Regions from separate parts of the Homo sapiens genome. Here all the other regions are linked to region 2. Evidence: promoter capture Hi-C in 16 types of primary human blood cells and fetal thymus (Javierre and others, 2016). All regions are on one chromosome and are shown on one strand. Each heading gives the region's core, a stretch centred on a gene start or on the middle of the fragment in contact. The rest is flanking DNA. Distances are from core to core; before and after follow the strand shown.

Region 1 (4,045 bases), core at 166-2,665, 340 kb before region 2:
TTTCTTTTTCTTAATAGTGATCTTCTAACAAGTTTCTTGGAAAAACTATCATTCTAAGGGAAATCCCTGTTTATAACCTATTAATATATTTCTATTCCTAGAAGAGAGTCTAGCAGGGATTCTAGTAGGAATTACTGAGTGTTTTGGAAGGCACTTGATAGAGGCATCTCTGCTTTCCAGCACAGGGATTCTCAGCCTTCTAAAGATCTAGACCAGTTTCCAAGCTAGCTTCTCCACAGCCCACCACTGCCTAGTGTTTGCTTGTGTATTCTCTAATGGATTTTAGGAGGATAGGCCTTCTGACAGAGTCATGAAAGACTGAAGGCATGTCTAGGGAAATAAAACCTGACTTGCCCTTCAGCAGGAATGACTGGCAGCGGATCTCTGTGTTCAAGGAAAGGGTGAGCGCTAAGCATGCCAGTGATGGATCCGAAGTATTTAGATGGATTGCAGACCAGGAATTAGAGACCGTTTGTGACTCAAGGAACTTGATGGATCTGTTTAGAGCCCTACATGAATTTGCCAAGGGCAGTGATTTTTATGAAATTCAAGAAGCAAACGACTTCGATACAGCTAGAATATGTTGCAGTCTTCCTATTTCAAACTTGATTTTAATATTTTTACCAAGAAGTTTAACTGACAACTCTGCAAAATTTTCATTCAGTATCATTAAACCTGAGTTAAATGTTTGCTTAGCTTATCCTCTTAGATGTTCTTCTGTTGAACAGGCAGGTTGCCCTTAACAGTAACTTGCTACTTAAATTACCTTTTATTAGTTAGTCAAGCTGCAAAAATATCATTAGTGTGGCGTCTTTATTTTGGCTTTATCCATATGAAGTATTCATTATTTTCATTCTTTTTGAGAATTCATAAATGTCTTAAAGCTTCAGTAAGAATTGTTGGGAGGTTTGACATCAAGTAACGCCTTCCTGTGTAGCAGTATAACCCTAATTTAGAACTCTTGTTTTCCTATTTCAGTCCTCATATTTGATCATAGAAAAGCACTTTTGTGATTCTATAGGAGTCAAAAAATCAGCCAAGAGTAGGTAAGTCAGTCAGCACAGAAATCAGAAAGTGAGAATTTTCTCCAAAAAATCTTTTTAAAAAAGTCCTGCTTATACTAAGAACATTCTTGATCCGTTGCAGTGTTAGAAATGACACTGTGATTAGTGAAAGCCAAGCTGAGTCCCAGGAAGCAGGGAGGGGGAGTGTGTGTGTGTGTATATGTATGAGTGTGTATATATATAATCTCACACACACACACAAAGGGAAAAATTATTTTGACTTTTTTCCTACTTTTAAAATGGTACATTTAAGTTTATAATTTTCCATGTCAGTCAACATAATTTTTTAAACTAAGGTATAATGGTCAAGGCTTGTGCTAATATTACCTACTACTCATTGAAATTTATATTACTTTACCCATCAAAACTAGTACTCCAGATGTTTACATCATTGATTAAATCTCAAGAATCTTTTGTTCTTAAAATATGGAAGTTAAAGATTTTAATTTGAATTAAAGATAGAAGGATGGTAAATTCAATATAGAGGGTTGAGATTTACCAGTGAGAAACCCTGTTGAAGTATCAGGTAAATGGTGTGACAAAATTAGAATCCTGTCAAATCACCTATCCAGCCATCGGGGTCCCTTCCTTTTTTAGACTAATTTCTAAGGTAACCAGAATCTAATGTATCTATGTTAGGGTCTCAGTAAAGCAAAGACGTTTGTCAGGGCGTAGACTCTTGAGTTAAATTTTTTAATCATTTTTTAAAGCAAGGCGGTTCTTAGAAAGTGCCTTTTCAGAAGATGGTGCTGTAGATTTTTATTTTTCAAGTAGCACGAAGCTAAGAATTTTAAAGATAAATTATTTTAGAACTCCAAGAGTGTGACAGTTTCATAAAAATAATGTTAGTTGTTGTCTTGAATCTCGTCCAAGGGAACCAAGGAAAGCTTTTATGCAGTAAAGTATCTAGGTAAATGCTCACCAAATTTATTTTGTAAATTTGAAAACAAAATATTTAGTAGAATTACCTCTTTTAATTCCCAACTGTGTTGGAGGAAATCCATAATGCACATAAAACAGCAAACCTACTTAACTTTTTAACAAGATTATGGGTATAGTACCAATGTCCAAAGGGAAATGTAACTTGCCTGGAATCATAGGCAACATTTTCTAATTAATCTTTTTTTTTTTTTTTTTTTTTGAGACAAAGTCTTGCTCTGTCACCTAGGCTGGAGTGCAGTGGCTCAATCTCAGCTTACTGCAAACTCCGCCTCCCGGGTTCAAGTGATTCTCGTGCCTCAGCCTCCCAAGTAGCTGGGATTACAGGCATGCACCACCACACCCGGCCCTAATTAGTCATTATTAAGGAGGACTGCTCATAAAGGCAGTACCAAATCATCATTCAGATCAGCTTAAGTGAGAAAGCAAAATGATAATCTCTATTGTTAGAGAAATTTTCTTTTCTAGACACCAAGGAATATTTTAAATGATTTTTTATTTTTTCTAGGATGCAGGAACTATGAAAAATGATGACAAGGCATTTAAAAGGGTATGATCAGTTAAATAGAAGTAGGGTCTGCAAATTGTGCTTAAGGGGAAATAAGCAAAAGAAAGGAAAATAGTAGAACCTTTCATACTAATTAGAAATGTAGTTACCTACCAGAGGGCAATTTTGCTCCATACCAGGAAGCAGTAAATAGCAGTAAATGATCACCTAGGCACTTCTTTCCTGTGAATTTGGTGAGCATTCTTCCAGAAAAGAAGACTAAAAGCAAACAACAACAACAACAAAAAATACCACACCTCAGTAACCTTGTATGCTGCATTATATAATAATGATAGTAAAATTATATTGTTTGGAGTGTACTGTGTCTGTTTGCAAATATACATGCACATTAAACTTTTTTGTTTTTATAATGTCTTAATAGCAATTATGAGTTTATTTTTGTTAAGATTAATTTTTCTATTGTGATGTTTATATTTATTGGCAATTTGTATGCAACTTTTATATTTTGCTTGTCGGTTTTAAGGTATTTTATTTTTATAGATATTTCTAGCTTTCCTCATTCTTTGTAATAGCAGCAAAGATTAAGATGGAGTGTTAATATACCAACCAAACTACGAATTCCATAAACTCTAGAGTTTGGATTTTTACCAATAAACCATTAACACTATTTTGTAACTTAGAATATTTAATGTTGTTTATATAGTGGGCATTAAAGACAGTCTTTAGACAGATTTCTACATGTGGAGGGGAGGTGGGGCTTTCCTGTAAGTTTGATCCTTTTTTTCCCCTTTAGTAGCAAACTAACATAACAGATTGGATTTATTTTACCTGACTACAGTTTTGGGGAAACCTGTCAAATAAATAATTGTTACATGCCTTTTTTTTTTAAATTTAAGCACATTGAAACTGCTTAAATGGTCACATTTTTCAGCATTAGGATTAAGATACCATTTTTGTAGGCCTGGAAAACAAATAGCAAATGATTCAAAATTCATTGAATTGACTTTGAAATGAAACTTTTCCCCCATAATTTGTTATATGGAAGATTTGCTACCCTGATCTTTTCCCTAGCATACTTCTAAAGTTGATTGAATCCCTGAGTATCAATGAAGAAATCAGAGTTTAAGTGGCTAGGGAGAGCCAGGTATAAAGACTGATTAATAGAGTACTTCAGCTAATTAAAAATTTAAATAGTAATAATTTATGAATGTGAATAAATTGGAAGGCAGCAAAAAGCATGATTATAGAATATTAAGTTCAATTATATATAGACAGTCCAGTTTCCTAGTGAATAGGTCAAGATTATTTGTTTTGTTTTGTGGCACTATCATAGTTCACTATAACTTCAAACTCCTGGGCTCAGGCTATCCTCCCACCTCAGCCTCTGAAGTAGCTGGGACTACTCACATGCGCCACCATGCCCAGCTAATGGTTTTTTTCTTTAGAGATGGGGGTCACTATACTGCCCAGGCTGGTCTTGAACTCCTAAGCTCAAGTGCTTCTCCCACATCAGCCTCCCAAAGTGCTGGGATTA
Region 2 (4,063 bases), core at 1,287-3,786:
CCTAATAATACATTAATTTTAAAAAATCAATAACTTTAAAAAAAGAAAAATATGGCTAGGAGAGGTAACTTGCCCAAGGTCACAGTAAATAAGTGGAATTGCTGGAATTCAAATCCGTAGCCACAGGCCGGGCGTGGTGGCTCCCCGCTGTAATCCCAGCACTTTGGGAGGCCAAGGTGGGTGGATCACTGGGGCTAGGAATTCAAGACCAGCCTGGCCAATATGGTGAAACCCCATCTCTACTAAAAATACAAAAATTAGTCGGGCATGGTGGTGAGCACCTATAATCACAGCTGCTCCGGAGGTTGAGGCAGGAGAATCGCTTGAATCCGGGAGGTGGAGGCTGCAGTGAGCCAAGATCACGCCACTGCACTCCAGCCTGGGTAACAGAGAGACTCTGTCTCAAAAAAAAAAAAAAAGAAAATCCATAGCCGTCTGGCTCCAAACCTCACACCAGGTGTGCATTAGAATCATCTGGTGAGTTTTTAACCCAACCTCCCCACCCCAGAGATTCTGATTCGTTTGGTTAGAGGGGTGGGCCCAGGTATCCTATTTTGTAAAAGCTCCCGGCTGGGCGCGGTGGCTCACGCCTGTAATCCCAGCACTTTGGGAGACCGAGGCGGGCGGATCATGAGGTCAGGAGATCAAGACCATCCTGGCTAACATGGTGAAACCCCCATCTCTACTAAAAATACAAAAAAATTAGCCAGGCGTGGTGGCGGGCGCCTGTAGTCCCAGCTACTCGGGGGGCTGAGGCAGGAGAATGGCGTGAACCTGGGAGACAGAGCTTGCAGTGAGCTGCAAGTGGAGTGCCACTGCACTCCAGCCTGGGCAGCAGAGTGACTCCATCTCAAAAAAAAAAAAAAAAAAAAAAAAAAGAAAGCTCCCCAGATAACTCCAAAGTGCTGAGGGGTACTGGTTAGAAATGCGCAATCTCAGGTCTCTCCCCAAGCCTGTTCTGAGATAAAATCCACTCCTTCACTGAGTGGCTCACTGCCATCTTCCACGCTGGCTGGAAACAGACTGCATTTTAACATGACCCCCTACGTGAATTAGATACACGTTAAGGTTTGAGAATCATTGGTTGACACCAGTAGTTCTCAAACATTAGTGTGTATCAGAATCATCTGAGGGGCTTGTTAACTCAGCTTGCTGGGCCCCACTCCCAGTTTGACTCAGGTCTGAGGTGAGGCCCAGAGATAAAGTCATTTTGAACATGTTCCCAGGTGATGCTGATGCTGCTGGTCAGGGGCCCACACTCTGGGAACTATTGGTCTACACCATGCAGCTGTTATGTAAGTAGAAATTAAGGTAATGAGGCCGGGTGCAAGGGCTCACGCCTGTAATCCCAGGATTTTGGGAGGCCAAGGCGAGTGGATCACCTGAGGTCAGGAGTTCAAGACCCGCCTGGCCAACATGGTGAAACCCAGTATCTACCAAAAATACAAAAATTACCTGGGCATGGGCGCACCTGTAATCTCAGCTACTTGGGAGGCTGAAGCAGGAGAATCGCTTGAACCCAGGAGGCAGAGGTTACAGTGAGCCAAGATTGTGCCACTGCACACCAGCCTGGGTGACACAGCGAGACTCTCAGAAAAAAAAAAAGAAAATAAATCTGGATAATGAATTGGGGAAAAAAACCCCCAACCGGTATTATATAAGGTACATAGGTTTTGAAGGTAGAGAAACCTAGGTTGGAATCCCCACTCCACCCCTAATTATGAAAACCTAGAAAAGTTAATGTCTCTGAACCTGTTTCCACATTTATTAAACTACAGGAGAAACAAAGCTACCAGAATCACACTCCACTAAAGGTACTCTCCTTTGATTTCAACATGCCCTGATAATGTATTAGTGCACTATGTCTTACCTATCCCTTATTTTCAGACCTGAGTTAAAGGGGGTGGAACGCTCTCTCTTTACGACCTCACTCAGCATCCCGTCCAGGGCTGTGCATTGTGGCACTGAGCGTGGCAAGCCAGACTAGGCCAGTGACGAGGGGGCCTGGGAGCTAGGTCCCTGGGCATGGCCTAACGACCAGCCACCCGGCTGCAGCCTGATGAATCTGCGATCAAGCAAAGGTATGGGGCTGCTGCTGCGACTGCAAAGAGCAGTCACCGGACCTCGAGTCAGGCCCGGGTTCTAGAACAGGCTTTGCCACCTCCTAGGAGGGCGATCACTTAGCAAACCACTTAGCTTCTCCAAGCTAGCTAAGCTACCGGTAAAACGGGATGAGCACCGCTTACTCAGAGCAGCGGGAGCGGGTCTGGGGAAAGGAGCTATACTCGGTAAATGGGGAAGAAAACGCTTCCTGGGCTCCGGCACCTCCTTCCGGAGGTCCTGGCATCCCCCGCATTCCGCCCCGGGGCTCCCTGCACCGCCGACCCGGACCCACCACGCGACATTCCTTCCGCTTTCCCCGTCTGGGTCGCCGCCGAAGCTAGCGGGCGCCTGGACTGGCTGCCTCCCGCCGGCTGCAGCAGGACGGAGAAACCATGCCGGCGACCGGGCCGCTCTGTCCTCCGGGCGCAGAGTGCGTCAGTGCTCTGCAAGTCACCGCGTCACGGAGAAACTACAATCCCCAGAATGCTTCGCGGCGCGGGGCTCGTGCTCCGCAAATCCCGGCCTGCGTCATTGGAGTCTCTTTCACTAGAGTCGTTCATTCATTCCGCACGCATTCATTGAACCGGCGACCTGGGCCAGGCTCCTTCCCAGGCTCCGGCATGGAGCAGTGACCAAGATCAAGTGGCTCCCTGAGCTGATGGCGCTGCAGGGGAGAGAGTCTTAAGAAAACAAAGAAGAAAAATAGGGAAAAATTTCTTCAGAAGATTAAAGGTGTGATGTGATGGTGACAAGGTGGTCTTTTATTGGATTGTCAGGGGTGCCCTGAGAAGGTGACATTTGAGTTGAGATTAGTGACATGAAGCCAAGCTTGTGAAAACTATGGGAGGAGCATTGCAATTAGCGGGAACAGTTTGTTAAGTAAAATTTATAGGAGGCAGGGCCGGGTGCAGAGGCCCACACCTGTAATCCCAGCACTTTGGAGGACAAGGCGGAAGGATCACTGGAGCCCAGGAGTTCGAGACCAGTCTGGGCAACAATGGGGAGACCCTGTCTCTACAAAAAATAGAAAAAATTAGCCCACCGTGGTGGCGTACACCTCTGGTCCCACCTACTTGGGAGGCTGAGGCAGGAGAATTGCTTGAATCCAGGAAGTGGAGGCTGCAGTGAGCTCAGAAAGTAACACTTCATTCCAGCCTGGGCAACAGAGCAAGACTCCGTCTCAAAAAAAAAAAAAAATTGGAGGCCATTGGTTTGAACAGGGCTCCTGCACCAAGCCCAACAGAACCAAAATGGAGTCACTCATGCTAAAGTTCTACATCACCAAGTGGAAACTAAGTTGTTTATCTGATATTCCGATAAATCAGAAGAGTGAGAGATAGCTAGATCTCCAAACCATCCTGTTTTAGCTGGCAGGATAAGGAAGTCCCCTCTGCTTTAGCCTTCAAAGTTACAAGGAAAGTAACTTTGAAACAACCAATCTTTTTGTTTTCTGTTTCTGCTTTCCTCAGCCCTTTTCTGGCTGTAAAACCAATCTCCTCTGCTCAGCTCATTTGAACACTCATTCCATTTTATAGAATGAAGTGTTGCCCGATTCTAGAGTTGCAAATAAAAGTCAGATTTAACAAATTTGGCAAAAAAAAGTCAAATCACCAATTAAAAGTTAAATTTTTTCTTTTCACAGTTCATGCAAAGAACCTGGGGGAAATGACCTTGACAATTTAGGAACACAGGAAAGGCCAGGGAAGCTGGGGAGAGTGGTATAACAAGAGGCCAGAGAGGAAGCAGGAACCAGAGCATATAGGGCTTTGTGAGCCAAGGTAAGGAGTTTAGATTTCATGGTTAGGAGTGCAGCCTCCGGATACAGTGCCTAGGTTCAAATCTACTCCTGGCTAATTGTGACTTTGGGCAAGTTAGTATCTTCTCTGTGCCTCAGTCTTCTCATCTAGTACTAGAAGTGCTATGACAGGCTATTGAAAGGGAGCGAAGTGATTTGATTTAC
Region 3 (3,722 bases), core at 1,107-3,606, 300 kb before region 2:
CGGGCATGCCCGAGGCGGGGAAGGGCGAGGTGAGCACCGCAGTGAAGGCCGGTGTGGCATGGGCAGACAGCTCGCCCAGCCCAAACTGTGGCTTGCCCCCCTTGCCCAGCACGGCACCCTCCACACCGCCGTTGGGCAGGTGCAAGCCTGCGATGCCAGTCTCATCGAAGGCCCCAGGGGCACCAGGGGGTCCCGGGGGCCCGGGAGGCCCCGGAGGGCCCGTGATTCCAGGGGAGCCAGGGACCCCTGGGGGCCCCGTGGGCCCAGCCGTGCCAGGTTCCCCTGCTCTCCCCTCTCCAGGGGGCCCTGGCAGGCCTGGTTCCCCCTTCAGGCCCGGCAGGCCTTGGGGCCCAATAGGGCCAGCTGGACCCTGGAGTCCTGGGATTCCTGAGGGACCCCTCAGGCCAGGCTGCCCAGGGAGCCCCAAGTCACCTTTCTGCCCCAGGGCTCCTGCCACCCCTGGTCCTCCAGGGCGACCCGTGAAACCCGGCTCACCCTTGGGCCCAGTTGGTCCAGGGGGTCCATGGGCCCCAGGAAGTCCCCTCTCACCTGGGACCCCTGGTTTCCCAGCCAGGCCACTAGGCCCCTGGTCACCTCGAATGCCAGGCACTCCTGGGGGTCCTCCAGGCCCTGCCTCACCCTTAGGCCCAGGGGGCCCACGTCTGCCAGGAAGCCCTGCAGACCCAGGAAGTCCAGGGGGACCCCCAAGACCCTGTGGGCCCTGCTCCCCTGGCTCCCCATCCTCCCCTGGCTCACCCCTGTCCCCCAAGAGTCCTGGGACCCCAGCTGGGCCCCTGTCCCCCTTGGGGCCTGGCAGTCCTGGCATCCCATAGCCAGTGGGGCCTATCAGCCCAGGGGGGCCCCGGGTCCCTGGCTCCCCTTTGGCCCCTGATGGGCCCTGTGGTCCTGGCAACCCTGCTGCCCCTGGGACTCCCACACCGTCTACTCCAGGAGGTCCTTTTGGGCCCACAGCTCCTGGCTCCCCCCTGGGGCCTGGAACTCCAGGAGGCCCAGACTCACCCTTGTCTCCTGGGGCCCCAGGAAGCCCATCCAAACCAGGTTTGCCTAAGCCAGCTGGACCAGGGAGGCCGGGGGGGCCGGGGGCACCCCCCTGCCCTGGGGCCCCAGGCAGCCCGGGCTGGCCCACTCCATTATCCCCCTTGAGGCCTCGATCACCTGGGGGCCCAGGCTCCCCCTGGGGCCCTGGTTCCCCCTGGAATCCTGGGGGCCCTGGCACCCCTTGGGCACCTGGTTTTCCAGGGATAGTAATGCCTGAGGGGCCCGGGAGGCCAGGGGGTCCTGGGGGTCCCCGGAGGCCCTGGTCCCCTCGTATTCCTGGCTCCCCCCGAAGCCCCGGCTGCCCTGGTGGCCCGACCTTGCCAGGGAGCCCTGGGGGACCAGCCTTGCCCATCCGGGAGAAGCCAGGGGGCCCAGCAGGGCCAGGCTGCCCATGGAGTCCTGGCTTTCCCATGCCTGGTTTTCCTGGGAAGCCAGGGGGGCCAGGGGGACCCCGAGGCCCGGGCTTCCCAGGGGGGCCGGGCTCTCCCTTCAGGTCCATCGGCAGCAGCGGTAGAGGCATTTCTGAGAAAGAAAGAGAAAGGGGCAGTCAGGGGCCTGAACTGTGGGGACAGGGGACCCCATCTACCCATTCCCCCATTCCAGTATGAGGTACACGGGAGAGGAAGAATGGGGCTGCCCCTTCCTGCTCTCATGGAAGATGGGGTTTGGGGGTGGCCCAGGGGACATCTTGGGGGCAACAGGGTGTCCTCCTTAAGGGCTCCTAACACCCAACCTACCTAGGCTGGGCCTCCTCCATGAGCCTGGCTGATTCTCACCTCTCATCCCTGCATGACCTGAAGGTGGAGTGGCCACCAGGTGGCACCAGCAGCCCACCTTAGAGCCCGTGGGAGCAGAGCCCCACCTCCCAACTTCCCAGTTCATCTCCCCCTTGGAAGACCACCTGTGCCAGCTAACTGCACCGTTTCCAGGCCCTCTGGGGTATTAGGAAAAACACTGAAGGTAGGAAAATTGGTGGGGAATGAGGAGCTGTGGAGGGCGCCTGAGGATCTGATGGCTCTCAGGGAGGCAGGGGATTTGGGGGCTGGGAGCGATTTGAGGCACTGTGGGGTGAGGAGGCTCTCACCCAGGTACTGGCCTTTGCCCTCACGGAAGGGCGGTCCCACAGGTCCTTTCTGCATGGGCTGGATGTACTTCACTGGGGCATAGCCCGCCGCCCCACCGGCCCCGCCACCAGAGGACGCCCGCGGCCCACACCCCAGCACCAGCACCAGTAGCAGCAGCAGCAGCGAAGACAGGGGTGTCAGAGTCCCCAGCATGGCGTCCGTGGACGTGCTGCAAAGAAGAACAGAGAAAGTCATCAAGCCAGCCCTGGGTGGTTTGGCACTAGGCCCGGGGTCACCAAAAGATCAGAATTTAGAGATTACACTGGAGATTTCAGTCAAAAGGCTGAGAAGCAATTCCGAATTTAGATATTATTCACAAGCAATTTTCAAAGTCGCGGGGGTCTGCATAAGCCACCTCCTAAACTTCTTCAGACCCTGCCTGTGGCTGTTCATCACCCCCACCATCTCCGAGAGCCCAGCCTCCCCAGGACAGCAGCCTCCTCAAAACCAGCCAGTCACTCTCTGCAGCCGGGCGTGCCTTTTAGAGCAGTCTGACCTCCCCTGCTAAAAACTCTTGGATGTCAACACCCATTTCCATTGCTGGGCCAGCTCTCTGCCAGGCACTAGGCTGAGCTCTTTAGGGACATGAATTCACTTAATGCTCAGAACACTTTAACAAGTTATTATTATTGTCATCTCCATTTTCCAGATGATAAAACTAAAGCAAAAGTCTTGAGGAAGCCAGAGATGGGATTTGTCTTAGGTCTGTCTGACTGCACCTTCTGCTGATGCCCTTCTGGACTCCCTGCCACTCGCCTTTGGGATCAAGTCTATGGCGCTTAGCATAGCATTCAAGGCTTTTTTTTTTTTTTTTTTTTTTTTTTTTTTGAGACAGTTTTGCTCGCCCAGTGCAATGTGCAATGGCGCCATCCTGGCTCACTGCAAAATCTGCCTCCCGGGTTCAAGCGATTCTCGTGCCTTAGCCTCCCAAGTAGCTGGAATTATAGGTGTGTGCCACCACGCCTGGCTAATTCTTGTATTTTTAGTAGAGATGGAGTTTCGCCATGTTGGCCAGGCTGGTCTCGAACTCCTGACCTCAGGTGATCCGGCTGCCTCAGCCTCCCAAAGTGTTAGGATTACAGGCATGAGCCACCGCGCCCGGCCTGCATTCAAGGCCTTTCTAACCTACTCTGTGCCTGTGTCTCCAACTCTATTGCCTGCTATCCCTTTCTCTGCCCCTCACCTCCCCACACCTCCACCCAGTAAACCAGAACTTGAAGTTCCCAGGCACCGGGCACCTTAACACTTCTGGCCTTTGCGCCTGCTATTTCTCTGCCTGCAATGTTATTTTCCTCCTCTACTCATCTTTTATGGCCCTGGGAGGCTGTCATCCCTTCCTCTATAAAGCCTCATTTCTTTGTGCCCTGACCTATGCCTGTCACAGCATTTGGCTCAACTCAGAGAACAAAGCCTGGGTGAGGAAGAAGCACAGGCTCTGGAACCAGCCAGGCAGCCTTCCCCTTCCCCTTCCCAGCTGTGGGAGCCTGGGCAGGAGGTCTCCTCATCCATGAAATGAGAGAGGATGTCCACACAATAACC

What was found. Contacts are between HindIII fragments. The CHiCAGO score rates a contact against its expected background, and 5 or more counts as called.
Region 1: a contact is called between a fragment that was not itself captured here and the fragment with the promoter of LSM10 in region 2, in 1 of 17 cell types (neutrophils). The highest score is 5.1, in neutrophils.
Region 3: a contact is called between a fragment that was not itself captured here and the fragment with the promoter of LSM10 in region 2, in 11 of 17 cell types (fetal thymus, naive CD4 T cells, total B cells and 8 more). The highest score is 8.9, in fetal thymus.

Annotation. Positions count from the first base shown.
Region 1 is chr1:36,059,976-36,064,020 of GRCh38, forward strand. AGO3 (argonaute RISC catalytic component 3) reads left to right here. Exons shown (of 19, transcript NM_024852.4): 19 at 1-4,045. Among named protein-coding and RNA genes, the nearest start is that of TEKT2, 22 kb to the right of the region's middle. The HindIII fragment of the contact is 1,067 bases long and covers 883-1,949 here.
Region 2 is chr1:36,395,372-36,399,434 of GRCh38, forward strand. It overlaps LSM10 (LSM10, U7 small nuclear RNA associated), which reads right to left and starts at 2,537. Exons shown (of 2, transcript NM_032881.3): 1 at 2,396-2,537. RefSeq lists enhancers at 1,682-2,394, 2,395-3,106. The HindIII fragment of the contact is 5,014 bases long and covers 1-2,929 here.
Region 3 is chr1:36,097,907-36,101,628 of GRCh38, forward strand. It overlaps COL8A2 (collagen type VIII alpha 2 chain), which reads right to left. Exons shown (of 4, transcript NM_005202.4): 3 at 2,144-2,352; 4 at 1-1,581. The coding sequence starts at 2,336. Among named protein-coding and RNA genes, the nearest start is that of ADPRS, 11 kb to the left of the region's middle. RefSeq lists an enhancer at 1-76 and a silencer at 2,157-2,286. The HindIII fragment of the contact is 9,742 bases long and covers 1-3,722 here.